Regions from separate parts of the Homo sapiens genome. Here regions 1 and 3 are each linked to region 2. The links are contacts of gene promoters, found by promoter capture Hi-C in human tissues and cell types (Jung and others, 2019). All regions are on one chromosome and are shown on one strand. The core of a region is centred on a gene start or on the middle of the fragment in contact, and the rest is flanking DNA. Distances in the headings are between cores, read along the strand shown.

What was found. Contacts are between HindIII fragments. The study calls those that stand out against the background at their distance.
Region 1: a contact is called between a fragment that was not itself captured here and the fragment with the promoter of FBXO15 in region 2, in 1 of the 25 tissues and cell types used here (dorsolateral prefrontal cortex).
Region 3: a contact is called between a fragment that was not itself captured here and the fragment with the promoter of FBXO15 in region 2, in 1 of the 25 tissues and cell types used here (dorsolateral prefrontal cortex).

What each region holds. Positions count from the first base shown.
Region 1 is chr18:72,872,303-72,876,423 of GRCh38, reverse strand. All of the region lies in intron 1 of NETO1-DT (NETO1 divergent transcript), which reads right to left. Among named protein-coding and RNA genes, the nearest start is that of NETO1-DT, 6.0 kb to the right of the region's middle. The HindIII fragment of the contact is 4,400 bases long and covers 411-4,121 here.
Region 2 is chr18:74,145,339-74,149,581 of GRCh38, reverse strand. FBXO15 (F-box protein 15) reads left to right here and starts at 1,748. Exons shown (of 10, transcript NM_001142958.2): 1 at 1,748-1,912. The coding sequence starts at 1,797. TIMM21 (translocase of inner mitochondrial membrane 21) reads right to left here and starts at 1,059. Exons shown (of 6, transcript NM_014177.3): 1 at 473-1,059. The coding sequence starts at 773. RefSeq lists enhancers at 809-898, 979-1,028, 1,059-1,178 and a silencer at 1,869-2,018. The HindIII fragment of the contact is 7,122 bases long and covers 1-4,243 here.
Region 3 is chr18:72,848,390-72,852,447 of GRCh38, reverse strand. The region is part of intron 4 of NETO1 (neuropilin and tolloid like 1); the gene reads left to right. Among named protein-coding and RNA genes, the nearest start is that of MIR548AV, 3.0 kb to the left of the region's middle. RefSeq lists an enhancer at 3,428-3,929. The HindIII fragment of the contact is 7,607 bases long and covers 1-4,058 here.

The sequences.
Region 1 (4,121 bases), core at 1,361-3,860, 1.3 Mb after region 2:
TACTAACATACAGCTACGCTAACACTCTTTTCCAATATCTAGTGATATTGAATATCTACCTTTTTTATCCAAGCAAGACAAGAAATTTACAACACATCTCTCCCTTTTCTTCCCATCTTACCCCTCACAATATATATCAATTATTTAGACAATGAATTTTCATAAGACTTTATTCATCTTTACTTCCAGATTGCAATATCCTCCTGAAGTCATCATTCTTCTTGCTATAATATATCATCTAAGTATTTTTTTAAAATTGAGTATATTAAAATATCTTTCTTTTAAAATTTAAGCAATAGTTTACAGGCATATAAATAAATATTAGGTTCAAAAAGTTTTTCTTTAACATCCTGACAGTACAGTTCCATTGATTCTTTTGTGCCCAATGTCATTTTTCCAAAGATGGTTGTCAGTCTAATTCTTGCTCTTTTCTGAAATAATCTGTTTGTTGTTATTACCGTCTTCTTTTCTTTCCATAATCTTTAAGAATTTTTCTCTGTCTTCAATTTTATTAAATGTTATTATCGTGATTCTAGTCATGTATTTTTTGTACAAAATATTCTATTTAGTCCTCTATGCCTGTTTTTGTTTTGAAGTCTTATGATATTGTATAATTATATTATGAAATATCATTAAGTTGAAATATTCCTTTTCCTTTTTCGTTATTACTTTACCCTTATCACTCTGAGATGGCATTATTACAGAACTATCTCTCAGAACGTCCCCACTTATAGCCCTTAGCCTTCTCCAGTTTCCTCCACCAAGGACACGATTCTTCTGTTTCCTACAGAGATTTTCACATTTTTCGTATTGGTTATTGAGCTTGGCTTTGAGGCATATGAACCTTTCTTGACTTAGGTCTCTATCAGCATTGTTATATTAAACTATAAAAGACATATGCTTGATGATGCAGATAGAGACATAAATACAAATATAGGTGTAGACATAGATATTGAAGTAGGTATAGGTACCTGCATAGTTCTGGGTACACTTATAGATATGGATATTAGCCATCTCTAGGCTTGCATGGAACAGCTTCCATATGCTGCTGTTCACAATCATGGGCAGTACTGACCGTGTTAACAAAACATAAATATTTATTTATATATGCTACCACTGTGCTCAGTGCTTTTGATGTCTTCCCATTTAAACTCTTAAATAGTCCTATGTGTTATTAGGACTGTCTTACAGAGGAGAGCGCATAGGCTAAGAAAGTTTAAGTAATTATTATATACCTAGTAACTGATAGACCTGGTATTCAAACAAAATGTTCTTGACTTCAATGCTCTCAACTTCTACACATCATGTTTTAACATTAAGGATTTAACATCGTATTAAGGAACTGTCGCTTTTCTAGGAGGTCAAGTTATTATTATTCAGCTAGGATATTATATTCCCTTTCTACTCATCTATTCTCTCCTTATACTGCATGTGTGTCTATAAATGTGTGTGATTCCAGTAAGACTTTCAATAACTTGATAATCTCTGCTCTCTCTCATTTTTACCATCTTCATGCCATGGGATTTCTGATCCCTGTGCAGTTCCCTACAATGAATTTGCTTTATTTTTCCCCGATAATTGCCCTTTTTTAATATATTTTTTTCTTTTCTTTTTGGGATCAACTGTCATAAAGCTTATTACATTTGGCAGTGGCCTCGAGGCACTCACACTCTGGCTAGAAGTGAGTGACTGGCAACATGCAGAAAGAATGAGGGCTTTCCCTTGAACTCCGGTGAAATCATCTATGTAGCTTCCCCCCCCGGCCCACCTCGCCCCCCTCCCCAGTATGGTAGAAGGTCTTGGATTCTATCAGTTATGGAGTTACCAAAAAAAGTGGCATTATAGAAATCACTGCACTTCTTTTGGCCTCATTTTCTTCATTTAAAAAATGATAAGATACGATAAGATCAAGGATTGCCAACGGAAATACATACATAGGCAGGGCAAGTAAGACCTAACAAATCACAACTATATCCTGTGTGCTAATTAGTAAAAACTGGTGTCTTAAGAGTTTTGATAGAGATGCAAAACTTCATATTAGTGCAAATGAAATGGAAAGTAGTGTGGATATTCCCCCCCTACCACCCCTTTTTTTTTCTGAGGCGGAGTCTTGCTCTGTTGCCTACACTGGAGTGCAGTGGTGTGATCTCGGCTCACTACAACCTCTACCTCCCAGGTTTAAGCAATTCGCCTGCCACAGCCTTCCAAGTAGCTGGGACTACAGGCATGCACCAGCACACCCAGCTAATTTTTGTATTTTTAGCAGAGACAGGGTTTTACCATGTTAGCCAGGCTGGTCTCGAACTCCTGACCTCAAGTGATCCACCCACCTTGGCCTCCCAAAGTGCTGGGATTACAGACATGAGCCACTGCGCCTGGCTGGATATTTCCTACATAGTGTCAGGGAGTTAGTGAGCGTGTTGGAAATTGTGGTGAATTATCGATTGCTTGTGGCTCACGCCTGTAATCCCAGCACTTTGGGAGGCCGAAGCAGGTGGATCACCTGAGAACAGGAGTTCAAGACCAGCCTGGCCAATATGGTGAAACCCCGTCTCTAATAAAAATACAAAAAGTGGCCAGGTATTGTGGTACGTGCCAGCTACTTGGGAGGCTGAGGCAGGAGAATCACTGGAACCCGGGAGGTGGAGGTTGCAGTGAGCCAAGATCGCGCCACTGCACTCCAGTCTGGGTGACAGAGCAAGACTCAGTCTCAAAAAAAAAAAAAAAAAGAAAAGAAAAGAAAAGAAAAAATATATATACCAAAAATTAACTGCATCTATCAATTATAAAACTATAATAGAGAATATTTAAATAATAATTTACTAAAAAGTAAAATATATTTTGCCTTAATTTTTGAAAATTATTGTAACTATAACTATTTGGCAAAAATTCTGCTGCTATATACATTGCTACTTTCTGAAAATATATTATTTGTAAATTTATCTAACCTAAAACTGAAAACAAAGTTAGTTTATGTTTCATATCTTGTCTTGCAAATGTAAATGGAAACATGGTAGGACATTTCCTTACACATATTAATTATAACAGAGAATGGACACTCAAAGAAAGAATAGGTAAATCAGGTAATTAGTGTTTAAAAAAGGAAGATTTTCATTTAACATTTCCCTTCATGCACAAAAGCTTGGTACTCTCCTCAAAATGTATTTAAGTCAGGTAAGTCCTGGATGTTAAGTCCTACCTTAACATCCAGGGTTACTTTCACCAAGCAAATCATGGCTTTTGTTAGTTTCCAAATCCACATAATAATATATCATAATAAGATTAAAGTATGTGCTAAATAGCCAAAGTTATTAAGTTTATGTGATGCTATTAACTTATATAATTATGAAAAAAGGCTGGGCGCTGTGGCTCACACCTGTAATCCCAGCACTTTGGGAGGCTGAGGCGGGCTGATCACCTGATGGTAGGAGTTTGAGACCAGCATGGCCAACATGGCAAAACCCTGTTTCTACTAAAAATATAAAAAAAAATTGTGCGGGCGTGGTGGCGCACACCTGTAATCCCAGCTACTCTGGAGGTTGTGGCAGGCTTGAACCCAGGGAGCAGAGGTTGTAGTGAGCCGAGATCGTGCCACCTCATTCCAGCCTGAGCAACAGGGCGAGACTTCAACACACACACACACGCACACACACACACGCACACACAAAGTATGTCTAACCCATGAGAAACTTTCACATGTCTGATTTAGCACACTGAAGTAACATTTTGTTTGTATTTATTAATGGTTATTTTGACATGGAATATGTAGATTTACCCTTTAGTTTAGCTTATATTTTCCAAATATGCCGTCTTCTAGGAGTGGAAACTTGTTTTTTCCCTGAAATAGCAGTGCGTGGACTTTGTGGTACAATACTTATACTATAAAGGTGGCTTCTGTACAGAGCCTTTACACTTTTAATCTTGGGGTGTATCTTCGTAAATGTTCCTGAAGTTTATGTTGATTTATAGAGGATGAGCTTATAATTAGTCGAGTGATCATAAAAATAATTGGTATTATTTTTATAAGCCACTGCGAAGTAAATATCAATCAAAATGAAAATTTTTTTTCTGAAGTTTTGATATGGATTGAAGGATCATGTATCTGAAAGTGCTAACTGGCA
Region 2 (4,243 bases), core at 499-2,998:
ATCACATGCGAAATGAAGACATTAAAAAAAAATCTTAAAATATCTGTGAATACATCTCTGACTTTCCCTGACAACTTACATTCCATCCTCCCTATTTTATGTTTTTCTATTACTGCAGGTAACATGTGAAAGTTTTCCCTACCAGTTATGAGTCAATAATCTCTCTCTCTCTCTTTTTATCCTATCCAATTACTCTTTATTATATGTAACAGAGCCAATATAACTTGAGAAAAATTTCCCAAACATAATGAAAAAAAGTTATATCAAATTCAAGATCAACTTTCACATCTGAGTTCCAATCTGTGAAGAAAACTGTAGATCTATATGTTCTAGTTCTAAATTATGTTTAAACGGTTTTTAAAAATTCATGTGAATTGCTTTTTCACCTTTAGCAGTGAACTTGGTATAAAAGGGCATTGGCAGCTCTTGTCATGTCTGTTGAAAGCCCAATCATTAAAGTACTCCTTTTTACCTTTTTGTGATGTTGGGACGGCGGTTCCCCCTCTCTGACTCCTGTGCACAGACACTTGTTTGCTGCCATCCTCCTTTGCTTTTCGGGGGCTCGGTCCCTGCGTCCAGATGGTTTTCTGGGTGACTCCAAGAATACATCTAGGTCGCAGCGTTTTCTTTTGATATTGAAGCCCACATCTCAAACTGGGCTCAGTCTTCAAGCACGCTTTGTTAAGCACGATGTATGGCAAAAGCAATCGCTTTGCCGAGGACCTGTGCAGCTTCTCCGTATACTGTACGGCTCGTAGAAAAGTACAAATCATGTTCACGGAAAATCGTTCCGCTTAGGGACGATGCTAACTACAATTAGGAAAGCTTTAGGGTTCACTACACATGCGGCCGGACACGTACTCAAGCCTATACGTTTACATTACATGGGGTGTTAGGCAAAAACGTCAGTTTCCGCAGCGTAAATGAAAACGAAAAGTCTCCAGGGAGAACCTGATGTCTACCTTCCCTTCTGTCTTCTTTCCATTTTAATTAACAGGCTCTGATCACCTTCTGGGCTGACATTCACAGTGTCCCCGCCATGCCTTCGCAAAGTCACCTGGGAAACCCCCGTCTTCCTGGGAATAGTAGTTTGAAAACCTCGCTCTTAACTGGGATACGGCAAAGAGGCGCGCAAAAGAGACTACATCTCCCACAATTCAAGGCGGCCAGAGCACGGCGCAGGTCCTTCCCGCGCCCCCAGACGCCTCCGCGCCCAGCGTCGGCGCAGACGCTGCGCGTCCCTGGAGCGGCGGAAAGTGGGGTGTTGGTGGGGGAATTGGTACCACCCACCCTACGTGGTTCAGGCGGGACTTGCAAAAGCCAAATTAGCAGTTACAATCTACGTGTTTTCCTGATCCTTATAGAGAGGACTGTGCACAGTGGGAAATACCCCCTTGGACTGTGGTCTTGCCAATTCCGCGTGGGCAAATGATTTAGTTTTTGCGTTTTACTGTGTTTTCAGAAAAACTGGACAATAAAGAGTCAGCAAGTGGGGATGAACGAGGCCGCTGCAAAGCAGGCACCGGTTTCCTAAATGGTTAAGCCGCGAACTTGGCTTGGCGCCCTAGGCGGCAGAATGTTAGGGGTGGGTAAGGAAGCCGAGGCCCGGAAGTTTCTAGAAGCCCGCTCTGTGAGCGGGTGTCTGGCGCGGTGCCGTCTGCGCAAGGGTGGGCATACCGTTACTTTTGCTCACGCGCGCATGCGCATAAGGGGTGTGGCGACGTGCGGGCGTGGGGGCGGTGCGTGCACTCTTCGTTTCAGCCCTGGCGCGGTCCTGTGGTGAACTCCTTGTCTCTATGGCGACTGGACGCGGTCGGATCTTGCAGCAGCACTGGCTCGGCCTCCAGACGCTGCGCGGGCCCAGCAGGGGCGGTGGCGCGGCCCGGGGGCGCGCCAGGGCCTTTGGGTGCAGGTGACTGTAGGGCCTGCGGGTGGGGTCCCCTGGCGGGAAGCCCGTCACTGCGCGGCCCCGCTCTCTTCACCGTGTATTTTATTCGTCCAGCTTGGCGCAAGGCCCGTGGCCGTCTTCAACGTGAGAAGGGTATGGAAGAACGACCGGAGGAAATCCTTTCTACCCTGCAACGTGGGGTACCCTAAGTTATGACACAAATAGAGTAGCCTCTCGGGGAAATATTTTTTCTTGCGGCGCCTGTGGCCGGGGATGCGCGCACCTGCCAGGACAGGTGCAGGTCCAAGAGGTCGTTTCTCCGGGATGCGTGCCCTAAATTCACGTGTGCTCCGCCCCTGCCTTCGTATTTTCGCTCTTCTGTAACCAAGAATCTCCCTTCGTGTTTTTCATGACCTTACAACTTAGGGAAGTAGAGTCTGTTCATCAAAACCTTATCAGTTGACACCCTCATCCCCCAAGCAGATACCTCGGGCAGGCAGGTTGGTCTGGCGGGTGGGGGGCAGCACTTTCTGCACCTCCAACGTCAAGGCTAAGTTGCCATCTACATTGCCAGGTCTTGCTCATCTGCTTTCCAGAAGCATCTTCAGCGTGAAGAAGTAAAATGAGCCAGTGCATCAGAAGTATCAGCATGCATAATGGTACCTTATGAAATCCCTCTCATTATATCGTGAGCTGTTCCCTAGCTGTGTACCCATCACTGCAGTTAGTTTACAGATGGAGGGATAATGCCAAGAATGGTTTACATTCTTGAGGATTATCTTTCTGCTTGTAAGACTCCTTGATTTATAAATAGGGAAAGTCATGCATATTTTGCCTTCTAATAAACCAATGGTCTATGTTTAAGCACACAAAGGGAGTCTATTACATACTAGTTGAACTACTTGTTTTTTCCCCCTGAATCTCCAGAACTATGTCCTGTGTCCTCTCTAGGTCTCCATTACTTCCACTTACCTGTTTTCAGAAGCCCAGCCCTGTTGCTTAGTGCTGTGATAATAGTTCTTAATTGAATACCTATAATGCTAGACATACCACAAGCCTTGTCACAAATAGAATGGTGACAATGCCTGCAAAAATTCTTTTATGTAGGAGAAAAAGCAGGAATTTAAATAGGAAACTTGAACTTTTAATCAATTTGCTGCTATTACTAAAATTAGTCTTTACATAGTGCTCTATTAGGGGGAAGCAGAATGATTTTTATATGATGAATCTTTTATCCTTTGTAAGTTGAGTGAACTTCCTGGATTGATATAATTAGAGGGCCTGTCATTATGCCTGGCATGGGAACCTGCATTTCAAGCTGATTTGGAAATGTATGCATTATTTTTGGTAAAGAAAAGTCCGCTGCTAAAAATAGAATGATTGACTATGGTCAAAGCAGGTGGTTATTTTAATATATCGCTGTGGAAAATTAGATGTTGTTAAGGAATCAGTGTTCCCTTTTAACACAAAATGTGAATATGTATAAATATCACAAACTGTAAGAAGTGTAGCAGAAAGCGTATTAAGTTGGCTTAATTTGTACCTGCTGTAATTTATTTGATTTGCCAGATATTTAAAATGAAGCACAGTCATTAGGTTTTTAAAATATTGGACTTATTGAAAGCTATCAGACAAAAACCTGTCACTTGAAAAAAAGTGTTTTCAAACTAAATTTATCTTGCTAAATGTATCAGTGTATGTCTACACTTAACCTTGTAGACGTATAGATTCGCATAAAAACATAAATAGAACTTGCTGATTTGTTAATTATGTGGACCTTAAAAATGTGCAATTGGGGCCGGGTGCAGTGGCTCACGCCTGTGATCCCAGCACTTTGGGAGGCGGAGGCGGGCAGATCTGGAGGTGAGGAGATCGAGACCATCCTGGCTAACACTGTGAAACCCCGTCTCTACTAAAAATACAAAAAAATTAGCCCGGCATGGTGGCGGGCGCCTGTAGGCTCAGGTACTCAGGAGGCTGAGGCAGGAGAATGGCGTGAACCCAGGAGGCGGAGCTTGCAGTGAGCCGAGATAGCGCCACTGCACTCCAGCCTGGGCGACAGAGCCAGACTCTGTCGCAAAAAAAAAAAAAAAAAAAAAGTGCAGTTGGTTTATTTTATGGATAAATAGAAATGTGTTTCCAATAGTGTTAAAAGGTACACTGATAAGATGTATGGTCTCATGTAAGACATGGTACAGAGAGCTCTGACAGGACATTAAGGAGATGGGCGTCTCAGAGACTGTCTTTGCTTCTAGCTTGGGACCTTAAGTTTCTTTAGTTGCCTTGTTAGAGCCTTAGCCTTGTAAACTGAAATGAGGGACTCTATGAGATCCATTTTAATTGTGAAAAAACAAA
Region 3 (4,058 bases), core at 358-2,857, 1.3 Mb after region 2:
GTCAGGAGATGGAGACCATCGTGGCTAACACGGTGAAACCCTGTCTCTACTAAAAATACAGAAAAATTAGCCGGTCGTGGTGGCATGTGCCTGTAGTCCCAGCTACTCGGGAGGCTGAGGCAGGAGAATCACTTGAACCCAGGAGGCGGAGGTTGCAGTGAGCCGAGATCATGCCATTGCACTCCAGCCTGGGCCACAGAGCGAGACTCCATCTCAAAAAGAAACAAACAAACAAACAAACATGAAAAGGAAGAAAGGTGTCTTCCTCATCTTGTTTCCTGGAGAGGTGGAGAAAAGAAGAGTACTTAAGTGTGTTTATATTTATTTATCGGCTAATCGCCGGACTATGTTTTAAATAGAGTACATCTGAGATTGGAACACATGGGGTCCTAGATATATTTCCATTATTGATATATGTTTTCCTTAGATTAGAAAAGACCTTGGAATTTATTTCCTTCAACCTTTCTACTTAAAAATCAAGAGAGCAGAGTGCTAGAGAAAATGTGTGGCCTGGGTTCAGGTACTCTGTAAATATTAAATTACTACTTGTGTATCAGTTATATAAGCACGGTGCTGATACACCTTCTACAAAGTGTTGAGATTATAACTTTAATTACATCACATATTGCAAGTAATTTTAGTACGGTTATATTAAGAAATTTAATTAAGGGATAATACTATATATATCACCCGCGTTTCACCATTAACTGATACATGATTTTAAAATTCATCTTCTCCATGTTGTTTGAAATGTTTTTCCACTCGCAATGTCCAAAGAAAGGATGGTTTTTCGTCTCTCCTTCTACCTCAATTGTAAAATTGTGCCTTCTCAACCCATCTGAGCCTAAAGTGCATGATTCATTTCCTGTTCTTCTCAAATACCTATTATTACTGACATAGTCTTCTGTGTGTACCGTGCTCTCATTAGTTGAAACTTGTGGCTCACATGTTAAATACTCAAGGGGAAAACTTTAGTTTATTTCTCCTAGATCTCCCACGAATTTTGTTTTCTTTCTTTCTTTTTTCTTTTTTTGTTTTGAGGGAGTTTCGCTCTTGTTGCCCAGGCTGGAGTGCAGTGGTGCAATCTCAGCTCACCACAACCTCCTTCTCCCGGGTTCACATAATTCTCCTGCCTCAGCCTCCCTAGTTGCTGGGATTACAAGCATGCGCCACCACGCCAGGCTAATTTTGTATTTTTAGTAGAGACAGGGTTTCTCCACGTTGATCAGGCTGGTCTCGAACTCCCGACCTCAGGTGATCCGCCAGCCTGGGCTTCCCAAAGTGGTGGGATTACAGGCGTGAGCCACCATGCCCGGCCGATCTCCCACGAATTTTCCTGCTCCCTAACACCCAGGTTTCTTTGGGTTTTTCCTGTGATGCCGGTTCCTTTCGCTCACCTCCCACTCCATCCCTCTATTCAGGGCTGCTGATCCCAGCAGTACACAGGAAAGACACTCAGTTGCAGCACAGAAATGAGCTCGTTCCATGCACATTCAGATTCCCCAGAGCAGGGCTCCATCCAGAAGTGGGACTGTTGGCTAATCTACAAAATGTTGTTTTATGGAATGGTAGAGGCCTTGCTTGGGTCAGTCCTAAGGTTACCTCTATGTCGAATCCCATCATCAAATGACCAGCACCCACACCCCTCACTAAATTTCCCTAAAGATAAATTGTATCACTTGACAAGAGAAAAACTCAAGAAACATGACAAAAACAAAACAAATAAATAATTCTTACACTCAATCTCCATTTTGAACTTTCATGCATCTCAATGTCTTTAGTTACTGGGCTTCTTGGTAAAATCTTCTGAAATCTCTGACTAACATTTAACTCATTATTGTATTCAAGAAACATGCTTTTCAAATTACTAAAGCCCTGTATATTTTTCCTAAGAAAATATTGACGAGTCTATTTATTCTCCTAAACATTTCCTTTCATAACAATTTGCAGACAATTTGAGGCTTATTTTTATTTAATTATTTGAAAACTAAATCAAGGAATTATAAACAACCCATAGTGTTCTTTGTCTAGACCAAAACATTTTTCCTATTATATTTTATAATTTGCATGCCATTACAACTACTTGAGTATAACTCATGTTAATATTCTTAAAGTGAATGCACAGAAGACCTTGATTTCTACTAGGTGATATTAGCCACCTACACTTATTTAACAACTGTTTATTGATCCACTATGCTAACACTGTAGAAATATAGTATCTGCAAGACCCTAGCTTTCATACAGTGAGTTCATAGTCTGTTAAAAACTAGAAGCCATGTATAGTAGCCAGATAATATACCCTCCCCACAAGATGTCTATGTCCTAATTTCTGCAATCTATGAATATGTCAAGTTCTATGGCAAAGAGATGTGAAGGTGGAAAGTTGTATTAATAATGCTAATAAGCTGACTTTAATAAAGGGAGATTATCTTGGATTATCTGGGAGGACCCAGTGTAATTACAAGGCTTTCTCAGTATGTAACGAAGGAGGCAGTAGGGTCAGGATCGGGTGATGGGATGTAAGAAACACTCCAGCTGCTATTGTGGGCTTTGAAGATGGATGAAGTGGCAGCAAGCCAAAGAATGTGGACAGCTTCTAGAACGGAAAAGACCAGGTATGACTTGTCTCCTGCAGCCTCCAAGGAAAGGAACACAGCCCTGCAAATGCCTTGATTTTTAGGCCAGTGAGACCCATTCAGATTTCTGACATCAGAACCAGAGATAAATTCCTGTTGTTTATTAAGGTTCTAAGTTGTGGTAATTGTTAAAGCAACAAATAAGAAACAAATACTTGATTTTATTTCCTAAAAGTGAAGTGCTACAGTAAAATAAATAAATAAAAACCTTAAAATTTGGAAATAGTTTTGGAATTAGGCAGTTGGCAAAAGCTGGAAGAATTTTGAGAAGCATGTTAGAAAAACGTCTATATTGCCTTAAACTTACTGTTAGTAGAAATATGAATCTTACTGACTCTGGCACAAGGACACAGAAGGAAGTGAGAAGCATGGTAGAGAAAACATGCATGTCTTAAAGAATACCTAAATCTTCATCAACAGACTATTTGTGGAAGTATGAAGTTTATAGGTGCTGATGACGACAGCTCAACAGAAAATGGAATATGTGTTTGGAAACCGACGGAAAGGGTATATCTGTTATGTTGAATCACAAAGCTTAGTAGAATTATATCCTGGAGTTATATGGATAAATAAAAAAGCAGAACATTATGCAATTAACTTGGATATTTAACTTTAAGGAATTTATTGTCAATTAAAATGTAAGCCCCTTGGATGAGATTGGAAAAGCATGCCTTAGAGAATAAACTGAGCTGGACAACTTTTTGCTGATCCCCTAGAAAGATCAAAAGATCAGAGAATTCAGTCTCACAAAAGGCTCTTTGAAATGATTAGGAGTGTGACTCATAAAGCTCTTCAGTCAGTCATCTCAGCAGAATCCAAAAATAGGATGAGATTATCTAGAAAAAAAATTCTATGAAGAAAATCTTTGGCTAATGGAGTGAATCTGAGGACATACACAGGAGACACACATGGTTCTTGAGAATGTTCCATCAGCATAAAGGTTGCCATCTTGAACTAAAGGAGACAGATATAAAGATTGAAATGGAAAAAGGGCGTCAGAACTTTCAAATGCCTACAAGCAAGAAACATTCTTATGTAACTATTCAGCTGCAGGTGTGCTACTGTGTCAGTAGGCTGACTCAGGAGGCAGAAACCTCAAGTCCACAGGGTGGGGAGTTAAGTCCAGAAGGTAGAGCTCAAATGACAGAGTACAGTCTCAGCCCTTGAAACCAACTGGAATTTGTCAACTGTATTTCACAACTGCTTGGAACTGGTGAATTTCTTTCTTTCTTTTTTAAATTCTTCTACTTTTTCTTATTTTGAGCAGGAATATCCATAGATGTTATTGTTTGCCTGCCCTACCATTGTGTTTTTGGAGCCGGTAACATATTTCTTGAATTTTATGGCTCAACGATGGAGAGAAATTGTGTCTCAGAGTGGATCATGCCCAGACCCTCACTCATACCTGATTTTAATGATGTA